Linked DNA regions of Homo sapiens: all the other regions are linked to region 1. The links are contacts of gene promoters, found by promoter capture Hi-C in human tissues and cell types (Jung and others, 2019). All regions are on one chromosome and are shown on one strand. The core of a region is centred on a gene start or on the middle of the fragment in contact, and the rest is flanking DNA. Distances in the headings are between cores, read along the strand shown. Region 1 holds the start of SLC1A1 (solute carrier family 1 member 1). Region 2 overlaps SLC1A1 (solute carrier family 1 member 1). Region 3 has its middle 50 kb from the start of SLC1A1.

Region 1 (5,000 bases), core at 1,636-4,135:
TAGTTCCTCAGATGCTTCCACTTTTTTCTCCCCTCAGGAATGTTTATTTTGTAAATACTGCCCTATCTACAACTGTAATGAGCATGGGTATGCTTATGGTCAACACTTTTTTTTTTTTTTAAATAGATAGAGTCTCGCTCTGTCACCCAGGCTGGAGTACAGTGGTACAATTATAGCTCCCTGCAACCTCGAACTCCCGGGCTCAAACTATCCTCTTGCCTCAGCCTCCCAAGTAGCAGAGACTACAGGCATGTGCCATCATGGCCAGATTATTATTATTATTAAGTTTTGTAGAATCAAGATTTCACTAAGTTGCCCAGGTTGGTCTCAAACTCCTAGCCTCAAGTGATCCTTCTGCCTCAGCCTCCCAAACTGCTGGGAATATAATTGTGAGCCAACACGCCCAGCTCTATGGTAGACACTTTGGAAATATAAAAGATAGAAGGCAAAGATGACCATTGTTAAAATTTTGGCATATTTCTTCTGGTCTTTTTTTCTAAGCACATGGTTTTATTTCGTCTGTTTGTTGGTTGGTTGGTCGGTTTAGTTTTTGTAGAGACAGTGGTCTAATTATGTTGTCCAGGCTGGTCCTAAACTCCTGGGCTTAAGCAGTCCTACCATCTCGGCTTCCCAAAGTGCTGGGATTACGGGTGTGAGCCACTGCACCTGGCCAATATGTTTATTTTACACACATGTGATCAAATTGTACATGCAATTTTAGTATTTCTTTCTTCCCTTTATATTTATAAATATAGATTTATAACATGTGCCATCCCATGCTGTTAAAAACTTCATAAACTTCCTTTATGTAGGCTGCATAAGGTACTGTTGCTTGGCAGTTCCATAATATATTTACCATTCCATTTATGTTGGACATTTGCGTTTTTTCCAGCTGTTTTTTTACTGTGGGACAAATCTGTTCTCTCGCGCACGCTCTCTCTCTTTTTTTTTTATGAGACAGGGTTTCCCTCCGGTCGCCCAGGCAGGAGTGCTGCAGCGTGATCTCGGCTCACCGCAACCTCCACCTCCTGGGTTCAAGTGATTCTCCTGTCTCAGCCTCCCGAATAGCTGGGATTACAGGTGCATGGCCCTAAACCCGGCTAATTTTTGTATTTTTGGTAGACGGGATTTCCCCATGTTGGCCAGGCTGGTCTCGAACTCTTGACCTCAAGTGATCCGCCTGCCTTGGCCTCCCAAATTGCTGGAATTACAGGTGTGAGCCATCGCGCCCGGGACTATTCTCCCTTTCTTGATAGTTTCCCTTCTGACATTTCCTTCCTTCTTTCTTTCTTTTTTCTTTTTTTTTGACAGTCTCGCTCTGTCGCCTAGGCTGGAGCGCAGTGGCTTGATCTCAGCTTACTGCAATCTCCACCTTCCAGGTTCAAGCGATTCTCCTCCCTCAGCCTCCCAAGTAGCTGCGACTACAGGCACGTGCCACCACGCCCGGCTAATTTTTTTGTATTTTTAGCAGAGACGGGGTTTCACTGTGTTAGCCAGGATGGTCTCAATCTCCTGACCTCGTGATCCGCTCGCCTCGGACTCCCAAAGTCCTGAGATTACAGGCAAGAGCCACCGCACCCGGGTCCCCTTCTGACATTTCTTCAGATCTTCCTCGGACACCCAACGACCTTAAAATCCCTCTAACCTTCTTTCTCTCAAAGTTTACTTTCTATAAAGAGCTGATAAACTCATTCATACTAAAGTCTACAGGGTTGTAAATCTTAATCTATTATCGCTTAAAAGATGCTTGTATCAATTTACACCAAAGGGATGAAGCTCTAATTGTGGGGATTTAGTCATCAGAAAATCTAGTAGGGGAAATTCTCCCTACCCACAATCAGAGTAGATTCTACAATAGCAAAAAGGGTTCCAGGCTCACTTAACTTTAGGAACGCTGATAAGAAGACCGCTTACAGCTGCGGAGGTACTGATTTGGTAAAGGGAGGGAAAGAGATTGTATACGTGAGAGTGAAAAAATTGGGTAGAAAAATGGAAGAGCATCAGAAATTCACTTAGCAACACCAAATATATTTGGCACCACTAACCTAGTTTCTCCTGTGTTTGCCTTTCCAATCCGTTGGACCTTAGGGGATGGACCGCCCACTTTCTCCCCAGAGCGGCTCCCGGGTCCGGTTCTCAGTTCTAATCACTGCCCCAAGCCTCCATGCTCCAGGGCCTGTGGTCACAGAGCAAGTCCCAAGGAGCAGAAGTAAAGTTCTAAGAGAAATCACCATCTCCTTGTGCAGGGAACACTCCCAAGCCCAGTGTCCACAGACAAATCACCTCCAGCGACTCGAAGAGGAGAATAATCCCTGTGGGGGCACTGGAGGCTCCGCGTGAAAGTTTCCAAAGCCATGTTCTGCCCCAGGACTCCTTTCTCTCCTCCCAGAAGCTTCAGGCTTTCGCGGCTGCTGGCACATCCCAGCCTGAGTAGCCGAGCAAGAGGGACCCAAGGCAGGATCAGCTTCCCCCGACTTGAAAGGGCACCCGTTCTGCAGGTGCCGGCGCTGGAAATAGCTGGTGTGGAGAACGGAGAGGGAGACGTGCAGGATGAAGTCCGCGCCCAGGAGGGCAGTGGCTCCGCCTCTCTGGGTTAGGGACAGAAGAAAACCCTTAACCCAAAGCCCTAGCATGAGTGAGGCGTGGAAAGCGAGACAGACTCCAGTGGAAGGCTGTGGGGCGGGACTCAGGGTTCCCGGAGAGGCCGCCCCAGCTCCTGCCGCAGCGCTGGGCGCCCTACCACGCCTGCTCCCTAGGGACCCCGGGCGTCCCACGCACGCACCCACCCTCCTTCCCGGGCCTGCCGCTCCTCCCTCCTTCCTCGCTGGTTGGCCCAGGCGCCGCAGAGCGCGGCGGCAGCAGGAGGAGCCGGGCGCGCCTGCCACGCAAAACTACCGGGCTGGCAGGGCGGCGGGCGCGGTGCGCGATCCCGGGTGGCGGCGGCAACGGCGGTGGTGACGGCGGCGACTGCAGCGGCCGGCTCTCACCTCTCCCCTGTGCACCCGCATCTCGCCGCGCCGCCGAGCAGCCAGCAGTCCCCGGGTCGCCCAGCCCACGCGCGCACGGCCGAGCCCAGCGCACAATAGCGGCGACAGCCATGGGGAAACCGGCGAGGAAAGGATGCGAGTGGAAGCGCTTCCTGAAGAATAACTGGGTGTTGCTGTCCACCGTGGCCGCGGTGGTGCTAGGTGAGCGGCGCGGCGGGTGGGCGATGCGCGCACCCTCACGCGCTCTCTGCGCCCAGGCCGCGTGCGGCTGAGGGTGGGCTTGGCGCTGGCGCACTCCATGCAGGGTCCCTCGATGCCCCCTCGGCCTTAGCCTCGGGCCCCCTGCGGGGGCTTTCCCCCAAGCGCTCTAATTACTGCACACCAAGAACAAAGCTCCTCTGGGACTCCCATTTGAGTGCTCCTTGAGCTGCTGGTTCCTGCTCTACCCAAAATGATCAAAGGGGCTTGGGGGTAGAAAGGGAAGCAAGTAGCTCTTGGTTCTGCTCGTTTGAAAACAGGGTTCGATTTTTTTCTTTGTTAATCCCGCACCGTATCTCCCCCTATCACCGCCACCTTCCTCACCCCACACCCCCAGCCTCGCTGCGCGGGCAGAGATTGAGTGTGGATTACAGTTCTCAGTCGAATTGGAAGAGGCACCCTGGCCTCCGGGATGGGCCGGACCCTTAGGGGAGGGAGGCTGAGAACGCTGTCGCCGCTCATCCTGGGCAGTGCGTGGAAAGGTGCCTTCCCACGCGGCGAGCGCCGACTGCCTGCACCCGGGCTCTGAAAAGCTGCCAGATTCGTGCCTGAATTCTGGGATGTGCCACTGTGGCCCGCGGGAGGTCACCGGGGAAGAGAGCTAAGAGAACTCAGCCGTCTCTTCTCCTGCCTTCCTTGCTCTCCACGTTGTTTTTGTATTTAAGATAATGTTTAAGCCATCCTTGCCTGTTTTTAAACAAGGGTGTATTTAAGTGATCCACCCCTCACAGATCACTGGACCAGGTGGATGTCTGAGCCATTGCTCAGAGGTATGAGTTATTCCTATTTAGATTCTGATTTTTTACCAAGGTTGTGTGTTTCTAGCTCCGGCCCGGGGATGCACTTCCTTGGGATTAGCGCCATATCTGTCGCCTTCCCAGTGATAGCTCCTCAGCAGGTGAGGGCTGTTGCACCCTCTGAGGAATGTGGATTCCTCGGCAGGCTCCACCTTCCCCTTGGAAACTGCAGCTGTGTTTGCTGAAAAGGCAAGTGGGGACAGCTTGTTTCCTCCCAACCTCAGGTACCTTCCTCTCCAACTGCTGCTCCTAAATCTCAGAATATATGGTGTTGCTTGCTTCTCCTCCGAACCGCCCCCTCCCCTCAGGGTGGGGATAGGGCATGGAAATGGCCTTTGGAAGTTAATGGGATTCTTGGGGTCAGATTGGATTCTCCAGAACCTTGGGGAAAGGAAAGTCAGGTTTCTAGTAAATAAATAACATCCTGGAATGGCCCTAGCAGAGGCTATTTGTAGGAGGAAAGGAGAGAAGTACAGAAGCAAATCTTGACTATTTCCCCCAAGAAGTGCCAAGTGGTTTTGGAACTTTTTTTTTTCGGTTTTGAACATTTTTAAGGGAAAGTTTATCCTACTCTACCATATTTAAATAGCATACGCTACAAAGAACGACTTGATTTCCTTTAGGCCAAAGAGAAGAGATGGCCTTGTTTGTTTTCCTAGTGATAAGAGTCGAGGATTAATTGTTAAATCTCTTTTTGAAGACTGAGAGATGCCAGGGCAAGGTGGCTCATGCCTATAACCCCAGTTACTCGGGAGGCTGAGGCAGGAGAATTGCTTGAACCCAGAAGGCAGAGGTTGAAGTCAGCCAAGATTGTGCCACTGCACTCCCGCCTGGGTGACAGAGCAAGAATCCACCAAAAAAAAAAAAAAAAAAAGGAAAAGGACTTTTAGAGGGCCAGGCACGGTGACTCACACCTATAATCCCAATATTTTGGGAGGCCAAGGAAGGAGGATTGCTT
Region 2 (5,000 bases), core at 1,033-3,532, 53 kb after region 1:
ACCCTTGAAAATAGGAGAAGTTAAAGTTATGGCCCAGGTTCCACACCTCACAATTGGTGGAACCAGGCTTGAGCCTGCTTGCCTAATACCAGTGTCCTTCCCAAGCTTCCCAAGCATCTGCTTGAAATTACCTGTGTCTGTGGTGGGAAGGAAGCGCAAGAATGGTGTCCTGTGTCCATTGCTGGGGCTTTGGGGGTCCAGGTACTTAGTTTACTTTTGAGAATTCCTTGTTGGCTCTGCTGAAGTCCTTCCTGCTACACCGTTCAGGGAAATTGTTGATCTTGTCAACCTGAAATAATCAAAAGGATCAGAATCCAGTTTTAAAGAGTTTATTCAAGCAAAAAGCTGGGAATAGCCATCCAAGAATCATGGACTCTAGAGAAATGGGGTCAGTGCTTCGAAGTTAAAAGTTAAGTACTTGCTTCTATACAGCAAACAAAGAAGTTTAGTAGGATTATAATATTTTCTATACAAGCCTGGTTTATGAGTGACAATTTAGTTCGTTTGTTTTCTTTTCCATACAGCTTGTTTTCGTTTCCTTTCCAATTTAAAAGCAAGTATTTAACATTCCATCCTAGTTAGTGTGATAACCATGAAGCCTTTGTGTGAAAGAGGAAAGAGGGAGGCTAGTCTATAATGAAGATCCATACTTAGAGAGAAAGGGTCTTCCCTGGCACCCTTTAGTAATTTATAACACTTTACCAAACAATGTAGGTAAGGAAAAGGCTAATCTATAATCAGAGAAACAAAGGTTACAGCTGCCTATTTATGTGACTCAGGTTCCATAATCACATTCCCTTAAGGCTCAAAATAAAGTTTCAACGGCTGAGATTTTCAATTATTTATTTTCACAATCTTTACCTTTCTTAGTTCTGGGAGTGGCCTTACCAGGTGGGCCTGGCCTGCGTACTCCCAGAAGGGCAGTTATTCCTAGCAGCCTTTGGCTTTGGGAACCTCTCCATAATTCTTAATCCAGCCCAAGGTTCTGACTCTGTTAATGGGTAAAGAAAGGTTATGCCCTATGAGACTCTGACCTCTTCTTGGGACCTGGAAAATCTTCTGGTGATTTTCCTCATCCCGAATCTGCTGTTTCTAAACTGCTTGAGACCAAGATAAAGCACACCAATTTACAAGGCATAACTCCTAGGTGAGGTCATTCACTAGCCATTTCTTGTATTTGAGGGTCTCAGTGTGACATCCCAACTTCATTTCCAGCACTAGATTGGTATTTCTATTCTTCTTTTTAGAAAGGAAAGGAGAGGGGAGGGGAAAAGGAAAGGGAGAGACACGGAGGGAGGGAGGAAGGAAGGAAGGAATATTGGAGTACAATTTGTGGCACTCAATTTCAAGAACAAGCTTGATAGAAAGTTGTAATTGCCAAATACAGTAACCTACTTGGGGTACATGTCACCTTTTATTGCTTTCAAGCTACTGTACCTGGCAACTCTTATTTCTCCCTTTAAAAAAATCCTGTATCTGGCTAAAGGCTGAAAAATAGCAAGTACATATCTTTCTAATGACCCTACATTAATTTAGCATAGAGATAATTAGAGGCACAGTTAATCATTAGTAATATAAGCCCTGAGATTGGGGCACATGGGTTTCTCTTGCTATTCAACAGAGTCCTTGTGTGGCTAGTGTTTGAGTACAGACACATCTTTATTTTTTACATACTGAGCTTTCTTTGACATACAAGCCAAAAATTTACTTGAAGCAACCTGAATAGTATGAGAGAGAATATTTGTTTTTTAAAGTCCTGGGAATTACAGCGTATCCTTAGGGCATAATATAGGTATGTTCATATAGAACAGCTGAACACAGGCAGTTTATAAAGCAGGAAGTGAGCACATCGTACTTTTTAAATTTATTTAAAATACTTTGAATTCTTGGTGTTCTTATCCATTCAAGAGTCTCTAACACTAGGGTTGTAAAATAGAAACCAAATAGCATTGATAATAGAGTTTTGTTTCATCTTTGTCTTAGCTACAATTTGGGAAATGTTTATATGTTTGTTCCAAAAATGATTTAAAATTGTGTATTCACAATGCAGTAGTGTGTAAACACTACTGAATCACCAGAAATGCATCCAGTAGTGCATGCACAAAATAGAGATCAAGGCAAAGGTAGAATAGGGAAATAAAATTAAGCTAAGGATAAGGTTAGTATACAAAATGCATCTTGTGAGGTTCATCTATTTGGTCTACTAGTGGGCATGGGAAGGATGCCTGAATTTAAATGAAAATTCTAGTACTGATTATAATTCACATATTCTTTCATTGCCCTAGAGTTTTTAATTGTGCCCAAATAAGTCTTGGTATTCACAAACTAATTACTTGAGTTTTTAGGTTCACATACCAGTGATATCCTCCTTGAATCTTTCTGCCACTTAGTCATTTTACTTCCAAATATCATGACATCCAACAGAGGCCGATGAAGGAAAAAAGATGCAAAAGTCATCCCATTTATTTTTCTGCCTTAAAATAAGAGTGTGTATATTGGGAGAAGGAAAGGGTAAAGCAGTTAGATGTTATTAGAAATACTTGGAAGAGAATAGAAATAAAAATTTGTGATTTTTAGTTATTAAAGTCATCATTAAATTGTGTTATCCATACAACTGAAGGATTTCAATATGGGCATCTTGTTAAGGAAAAGCTTTCAGAGAATGGTAACATTTCTTAATAGTGAACATGTCCCTACACTCACATAATTATAAGACTTCATGTACAAGGTACTCAAAATCAGAAACTTTGTAAAAAGCCTTTTAATCAGATAAACCTGAATATATCATTATCTAGAAATAACTGAAAAGAGTGCAAAACATTAGAGAACAGTCATTTGATAATATGGTAAATAAATCAATAGGCTATTATATTCCTATTAAAATTATAAAAGTTGCATAAACAGGAAAGATTATACAAATATACCATAAAAAGTACTTATAATAAAAATATGAGAAAAATACAAACTGATATGTAAACTATAAAATATGTAAAATAGCCAAGCATGGTGGTTCACACCTGTAATCCCAGCACTTTCGGAAGTCGAGGTGGGCAGATCACTTGAGGCCAGGAGTTCGAGACCAGCCTGGGCAACCGAATGAAACCCTCTCAAGAAAAAAATACAAAAATTAGCTGGACATGGTGGTGCGCATATAGTCCTAGCTACTCGGGAGGCTGAGGTGGGAGGATCGACTGAGCCTGGAAGGTTGAGGCTGCAGTGAGCCGAGATGGTACCACTGTACTCTAGGCTGGGTGACAGAGTGAGACCCTGTCTCAATAAAAATAATAAAATATGTAAAATATCTCTGCAGGTAGAAAAAGGTGGTGTGTGAATGCAAAAGAGTTATACTGGATTGACTAAGATGATTTTTTTTCTCACAGTATTCTTTGATATTTTGTCATAATAAGTGTAATTGATAGCGAAGAAATGACAACAAAGCTTTCATGTATAGAATACTTTTTACAGATTTACTGAATAATGTGTACTTTCTGTTCACTGTCTTTTAAAATATAATTTCAGTCTAGATTTTACAGACTCATGGGAAATGATCTAAACTATTTTTCTTGCCATTAAAATGTGCATTTGGGAGTATTTTTCCATAGACATAGATACAGGAGAACTCAATAATGTTCCTCTTCCTTCTTTCCAACTCTTGTTTTCCTTAGGCATTACCACAGGAGTCTTGGTTCGAGAACACAGCAACCTCTCAACTCTAGAGAAATTCTACTTTGCTTTTCCTGGAGAAATTCTAATGCGGATGCTGAAACTCATCATTTTGCCATTAATTATATCCAGCATGATTACAGGTACCTTGAGAAAACAGATGTTCTCTATATTAGTCCATTTTCATACTGCTGTAAAGAACTTCCTGAGACTAGGTAATTTATAAAGGAAAGAGGTTTAATTGACTCACAGTTCATCCTGGCTCAGAAGGTCTCAGGAAACTCACAATCATGGCGGAAGGCAAAGGGGAAGCAAGACAACCTCCTTCACAAGGTGGCAGGAAGGAGAAAGGCTGGGCGAAGCAGGAAGAGCCCGTTATAAAACCATAAGATCTCGTGAGAACTCACTCACTATCACGAGAACAGCATGGGAGAAACTGCCACTATGATTCAATTACCTCCACCTGGTCTCTCCCTTGACACCTGGGGATTATGGGGATTACAATTCAAGATGAGATTTGGGTGGGAACACAAAGCCTAACCATGTCATTCTCTATGATTATTTAAAAAGCTTTCACCTAAGTTGTTCTTTTCTAATTACGGGAAAAATTGAAATACATTAGATGTCTCTCTCTCTCTCTCTCTCTCTCTCTCTCCACCTCTCTCCACTTGGAATGTCTATATTTGCTTCTGTGGAAACATTTTACTGTTCTCAACATGGCATTGCTTTGTCATATGCTGTGCCTACAGCTCTGTCCACCACTGCTCAAATCTTCATTTGACCAGCATGTGATGTCTTGGGAGGAAAATGTCATTTTCAAACATATAAACAAAACGTTATCTGGGGCATGGGAAAAAAAAGCATATTTGGTCACTGAAATGTCAGCTAGTGTCCTCAGGAAAAATATAGTTGTCAATTTTGATCATGTTTTCAGCCATTCACTCATTTATTTCCCAACTGCAGCTGTGCTGCCCCCAGCCTCTCAGCAGCTGCCTTCAGGGTCTCTGCACTCCTTACCCACTTTCTACTCAAAGCCAGAACTTGCTATGTGTCTGCCCTGCATATTTGCTGTGGGGACCAGCAGTCAAGTTCTGTGAGAAGGGTTTAAATATGGAAGTGCACCATATTCGAAAAGCCTAGTATTTTTAAAACTTGTGACACAGTTGCATTTGGAAATGACTTTTCCCTTATTGATCATTACATTGCAGGGCTCCTTTGAAGAGGAAGCTTCCTTAGGTAGATAGAGATGAATTTGGTTTACAAAAATGTCATTTGTCTGGCTGTGATAAGTTTCTCTGCATTGCAGTTTCTTGTACTTAACTCTGGCAATTAGTAAA
Region 3 (5,000 bases), core at 1,158-3,657, 50 kb before region 1:
ACAAGGCTTCTGTTCAACAGTGGGCTATTCATAGTTAAGTTCTCAGGGAGTCAAAAGTTATATGTGGATTTTTGACTGTATAAGGGATTGGTGCCTCTAACTTCCTATGTTTTTCAATGGTCAGCTGTAGTTGAGAAGTTAGGAAATAACCCAAGAAACCTAACTCCAGAACCAGTGCTCTGAACACTTATGCTAAATAAATGGCTTCTTTTGAATTTTGGAAATTTATTTTCAAATAAAATATTTCCCTTCTACAAAAAAGTATAATAATGAGGCTAAAGTAATGAATGTTCAGGTACCCTCATGCCACCCCAATGAATCTTAATGTTTTGTGATATTTTGTTTACATATGTAATATCTAAAGAAAAAATCGCAGATATAGCTAAAATGTTTTAGTAATGAAGTTTATACTAATTAAAAGCAATTAAAGGCAAAATGACAAATAGACTTCATTTGTTCATGTCCCAGAGAAGCTTCCCCACCCCGTGATTATTTTTCTAAGGAGGGTGAGACAAGTCAAAGGGATGATGAGATGGTGGCAGTGTGAAGATTTTCTCACCTGCACTCTCAACCCACATCAGAAGAAATAGCTTATCCTGAATCTGGTGTTTTTCATTACTTTGCATGTTGACATGGTTTGGCTGTGTCCTCACCCAAATCTCACCTTGAATTGTAATAATCCCCACTTGTCAAGGGCAGGGACAGGTGAAGATAATTGAGTCATGCAAGCAGGTTCCCCATGCTGTTCTCATGGTAGTGAATAAGTCTCACAAGATCTGATTGTTCTATAAATGAGAGTTCTGCACAAGCTCTCTCTTGCCTGCCGCCATGTAGGACGTGTCTTGCTTCCCCTTCCCTTTCTGACATAATTGTGAGAACTCCCCAACCACATGGAACTGTGAGTCTATTAAACCTCTTTCCTTTATAAATTACCTAGTCCTAGGTATGTCTTTATTAGCAGCGTGAGAACAGACTAATACACATGTTTTGTATAATCCTACTCTATAAGTCAATTTTCTTCAAATATAGCACTGTTTGACCAACTTTTAAGAATCACAGACATGGGGTTATAATGTGCCATCAAAATATAATGGCCAATGTTGGTTCCTCACCACCTAGCATCTGTTGTCTCTTCAACACGCTTTCATGTTTTACCCCTTTCTCTCTCTGTGCTGCATGCTGAGGGCATTCTTCAGTACTACCTTCCAATTCCCTAATCATCCCTGTAAGTATAAAATTTTTGTATTCCAAAAGCCATAATTTTTTCTATTTTCCAAGATTTCTATTTTTAAAATGTTTATTGAGATATAATTCACGTATCATACAATTCACACACTTAAAATGCACACTCCAATGTTTTTAGTATGTTCACAGAGTTGTGCAGCCATCTCCACGATCAATTTTAGAACGTTTTCCTCATCCAATAAACTCCACAACCATTAGCAGTAATTTCCCCATTTCTCTTCTTCTCCTCCTATCTTCTCCCCAGTACCTCCTGGCCACAGGCACTCACTTGTCTGGTTTCTGTTTCTATATGTTTGCCTATTCTGGGCAAAAATTTTTTCCTCCTGCCTTCTATCTGTGATTGATTATATATCCTTTGACCAACATCTCCTCATCTTCTCTTTCATAACCACCCCAGTTTCTGGTAAACACCATTCTACTCTCTCCTTCTATGAGATCAGCTTGTTTAGATTTCACATGAGAGATTATGCAGTTGTTTTTGGTTTTTGTTCTTTTTGAGACAGAGTCTCACTCTGTTGTCCAGGCTGGAGAGCAGTGGTGTAATTAGTTTTTCATTTTTCATATTTGGGAACCTTCCCAACTCAGGTGATCCTCCTACCTCAGCCTCTCAAACAGCTGGGATTACAGGAACACCCTACCACACCAGGCTAATTTTTGTGGGGTTCTTTTGCAGAGAAAAGGTTTCACCCTGTTGCCCAGGCTGGTCTTGAACTCCTGTGCTCAAGCAATCTGCCTACCTCAGCCTTTCAAAATGCTGGGATTACAGGCATGAGCCACCGTGCCCAGCCTACATGTCTTCTTTTGAGAAGTGTCTATTCAAGTCTTTCGCCCATTTTGTAATAGGTTTGTTTTCTTGCTATTGAGTTGTTTGAGTTCCTTTTATATTTTGGATATCAACCTCTTGTCAGACGTGTAGTTTTCAAATATTTTCTTCCAGTCTATAAGTTGTCTCTTTACTCTGCTAATTGTTTCTTTGCTGTGCAGAAGTTTTTTAGTTTGTTGTAATCCCATTTTTCCAATATTGCTTTTGTTGCCTGTGATTTTGAGGTCTTATCCAAAAAAATATTTGCCCATACCCATGTCATGAAGCATTTCTCCAATGTTTTCTTATAGTAGTTTCATCATTTGGGGTCTTAGACTTAAGTCTGTAATCCATTTTGAGTTCATTTTTTATATAAGGGTCTAGTTCCCTTCTTCTGCCTGTGGATATCCTGTTTTCTCAACACAATTTATGGAAAAGACTGACCTTTCCCAAAATGTGTTCGTAGCACCTTTGATGAATATCATCAGTTGGCTGTAAATTGTGGATTTATTTCTGGGCTCTCTATTCTGTTCCATTAGTTTGTCTGTTTTTATTGGTTATTTTAGCTTTGTTGTATATTTTTAAATCAGGTAGTGTTACACCTTTGTTCAGCTTTGTTCTTTTTGGTCAGAATTGCTTTGACTATTCAAGGTTTCTGTGGTTCCATTCAAATTTTAGGATTTTCTATTTCCATGAAAAATGTCATTGGTATTTTGACAGGGGTTGCATTGATTTTGTAGATCACTTCAGGTAATATGGACATTTTAACTATATTAATTCTTCTAATTCATGCACACAGGATATCTTTTCATTTACTTGTGTCTTCTTCAATTTCTTTCATCAGTTTTTTTGTAGTTTTCATTGTAAAGATCTTTCACTTCCTTGGTTAAATTTATTTCTAGTTATTTTTGGTAGTTATTATAAATAGAACTGTTTTCTTAATTTTTTTTTCAGATAGTTTGCTATTAGCATATAGGAACACTCCTGATTTTTGTGTGTTGATTTTGTATCCTGCAACTTTACTAAATTCATTTATTAGTTCTAACAGCTTTTTGGCACAGTCTTTAGGGTTTTCTGTATGTAAGATCATGTTATCTGCCAACACGGATAATTTTACTTCCTCCTTTCCAATTTGGATACCTTTTATTTTTCTATCTTGCCTAGCTACTCTGGCTAAGACTTCTAGTATTATGCTGAGTAAAAGTGGTAAGAAATGGGCATCTTTGCCTTATCCAAATCTTACCATAAAAGCTTTCAGCTTTTTCTTATTCAATATGATGTTAGTTGTGGGTCTGTCATACATGGCTTTTATTGTGTTGAGGCACATTCCTTCTATACCTAATTTATTGTTAGTTTTTATGATTAAGTGATGTTGAATTTCGTCAAATGCTTTTTCTACATCTTGGTTTTTGTCCTTCATTTTGTTAATGAATCACATTTATTGATTTGCATATATTGAACCATCCTCATTTGCCTGGAGTGGATTCATCTTGATCTCACTTGAAGATGGTAAATAATCTTCTCAAAGTGTTGTTAAATTTGATTTGCTAGTGTTTTGTTGAGGATTTTTGTGTCTAAGTTCATCAGGGATATTGACTAGTAGTTTTCTTTTCCTTTTTCTTTTTTTTGAGACAAGGTCTGGCTCTATCACCCAGGCTGGAATGCAGTCATGTGATCTCGGCTCCCTACAACCTCTGCCTCTCGGGTTCAAGCCATCCTTCCACCTCAACCTCCAAAGTAGCTGGGATTGCAGGTGCTCACCATCAAACCCAGCTCATTTTTGTATTTTTTGTAGAGACGAGGTTTTGCCATTTGCCCAGGCTGTTCTAGAATCCTGGGCTCAAGTGATCTGCCCACCTCGGCCTCCCCAAGTGCTGGCATTACAGGCGTGAGCCACCCACCGCACCTGGCCATCTTTTTTTGTTGTTGTCTTTGTTAGGTTTGGGTATCAAGGTAATGTTGGCTTTAGAGAAAGAGTAAGGAAAAATTTCCTGTTCTTCAGTTTTTTGGAATAGCTTAAGAAGAGCTGGTATTAGTCCTTCTTTAAACGTTTGGTAGAATTCACAGTGAAACTATCAAGTTCCAGGCTTTTCTTAGATGGGAGACTTTTCACTCCTGACTCAATCTCCTTACTCACTATTGGGCTGTTCAAATTTTCTATTTCTTCACAATTCAGTATTGGTAGGTTACATGTGCCCAGGAATTTATCTATTCCTTGTAGATTTTCCAATTTGTTGGTGTATAATTGTTCATAATTGTCTGTTATGATCCTCTGTATTTTTCTGGCATCAGTTGTCATGTCTCCTTTTTCATTTCTAATTTTATTTGTTTGGGTCTTCTCTTTTTCTTTCTTAATCTAGATAAAGGTTTATTGATTTTGTTTATCTTTTTGAAAGTTCTCTGGCTTCTCTTCCCTCCCCACCCCCTAAAGAATTTCAACTGGTAATCATCCAGTGGCAAGTTTACCACCCTGAGTATTCCAGAACTTGGGAGTGAAAACACGATCAGATAATAAGGGAAACACTGCTCTATTTTCCAAAATTTCTAACTCATTCCTTTTCATTTCAGATTTCATTTTTGTTGCTTTTGTTTTATAATTTCTTATTTTTCATAAATTTTATGCCTCCTTTTTTCTCCTTAAATACCTTAAATATATATATTTCAAAGTCTTGGTTAGACTAAGTTAATAAAATAAAATTAATAAATTAATCTTATTTGTTATTAATCCATTTCTTTTTTACCATTAGATTTCTTTACATGTTTACAGTTATTAAAATGAAGGCTTATTTTAAACTGAATGGATTTTGTTTTCATTTTTTTTCTCCCTCTTCGCTTTCCCTCTCTATAGAAGTTTTGAAGTTGCCTCTGTGTAGTTTCCCAGACCCCAGTCCAGAACACAAGCTCATAAGAAGAGTTTAGAGATTCCCTAGGGTGATAATTGAGGTGTTACAAA

Evidence for each region. The method cuts DNA at HindIII sites, captures the fragments that hold promoters and counts their contacts. A contact is called where the count stands out against the background at its distance.
Region 2: a fragment that was not itself captured here is called in contact with the fragment with the promoter of SLC1A1 in region 1 in 4 of the 25 tissues and cell types used here (H1 embryonic stem cells, dorsolateral prefrontal cortex, hippocampus and 1 more).
Region 3: a fragment that was not itself captured here is called in contact with the fragment with the promoter of SLC1A1 in region 1 in 1 of the 25 tissues and cell types used here (lymphoblastoid cells).

What each region holds. Positions count from the first base shown.
Region 1 is chr9:4,487,583-4,492,582 of GRCh38, forward strand. SLC1A1 (solute carrier family 1 member 1) reads left to right here and starts at 2,886. Exons shown (of 12, transcript NM_004170.6): 1 at 2,886-3,188. The coding sequence starts at 3,098. It also overlaps a transcript of GLIS3 not described here. RefSeq lists an enhancer at 2,484-2,533 and a silencer at 2,684-3,113. The HindIII fragment of the contact is 11,033 bases long and covers 1-5,000 here.
Region 2 is chr9:4,540,902-4,545,901 of GRCh38, forward strand. SLC1A1 (solute carrier family 1 member 1) reads left to right here. Exons shown (of 12, transcript NM_004170.6): 2 at 3,666-3,806. Among named protein-coding and RNA genes, the nearest start is that of SLC1A1, 53 kb to the left of the region's middle. The HindIII fragment of the contact is 3,105 bases long and covers 731-3,835 here.
Region 3 is chr9:4,437,950-4,442,949 of GRCh38, forward strand. It overlaps a transcript of GLIS3 not described here. Among named protein-coding and RNA genes, the nearest start is that of SLC1A1, 50 kb to the right of the region's middle. The HindIII fragment of the contact is 6,103 bases long and covers 1-5,000 here.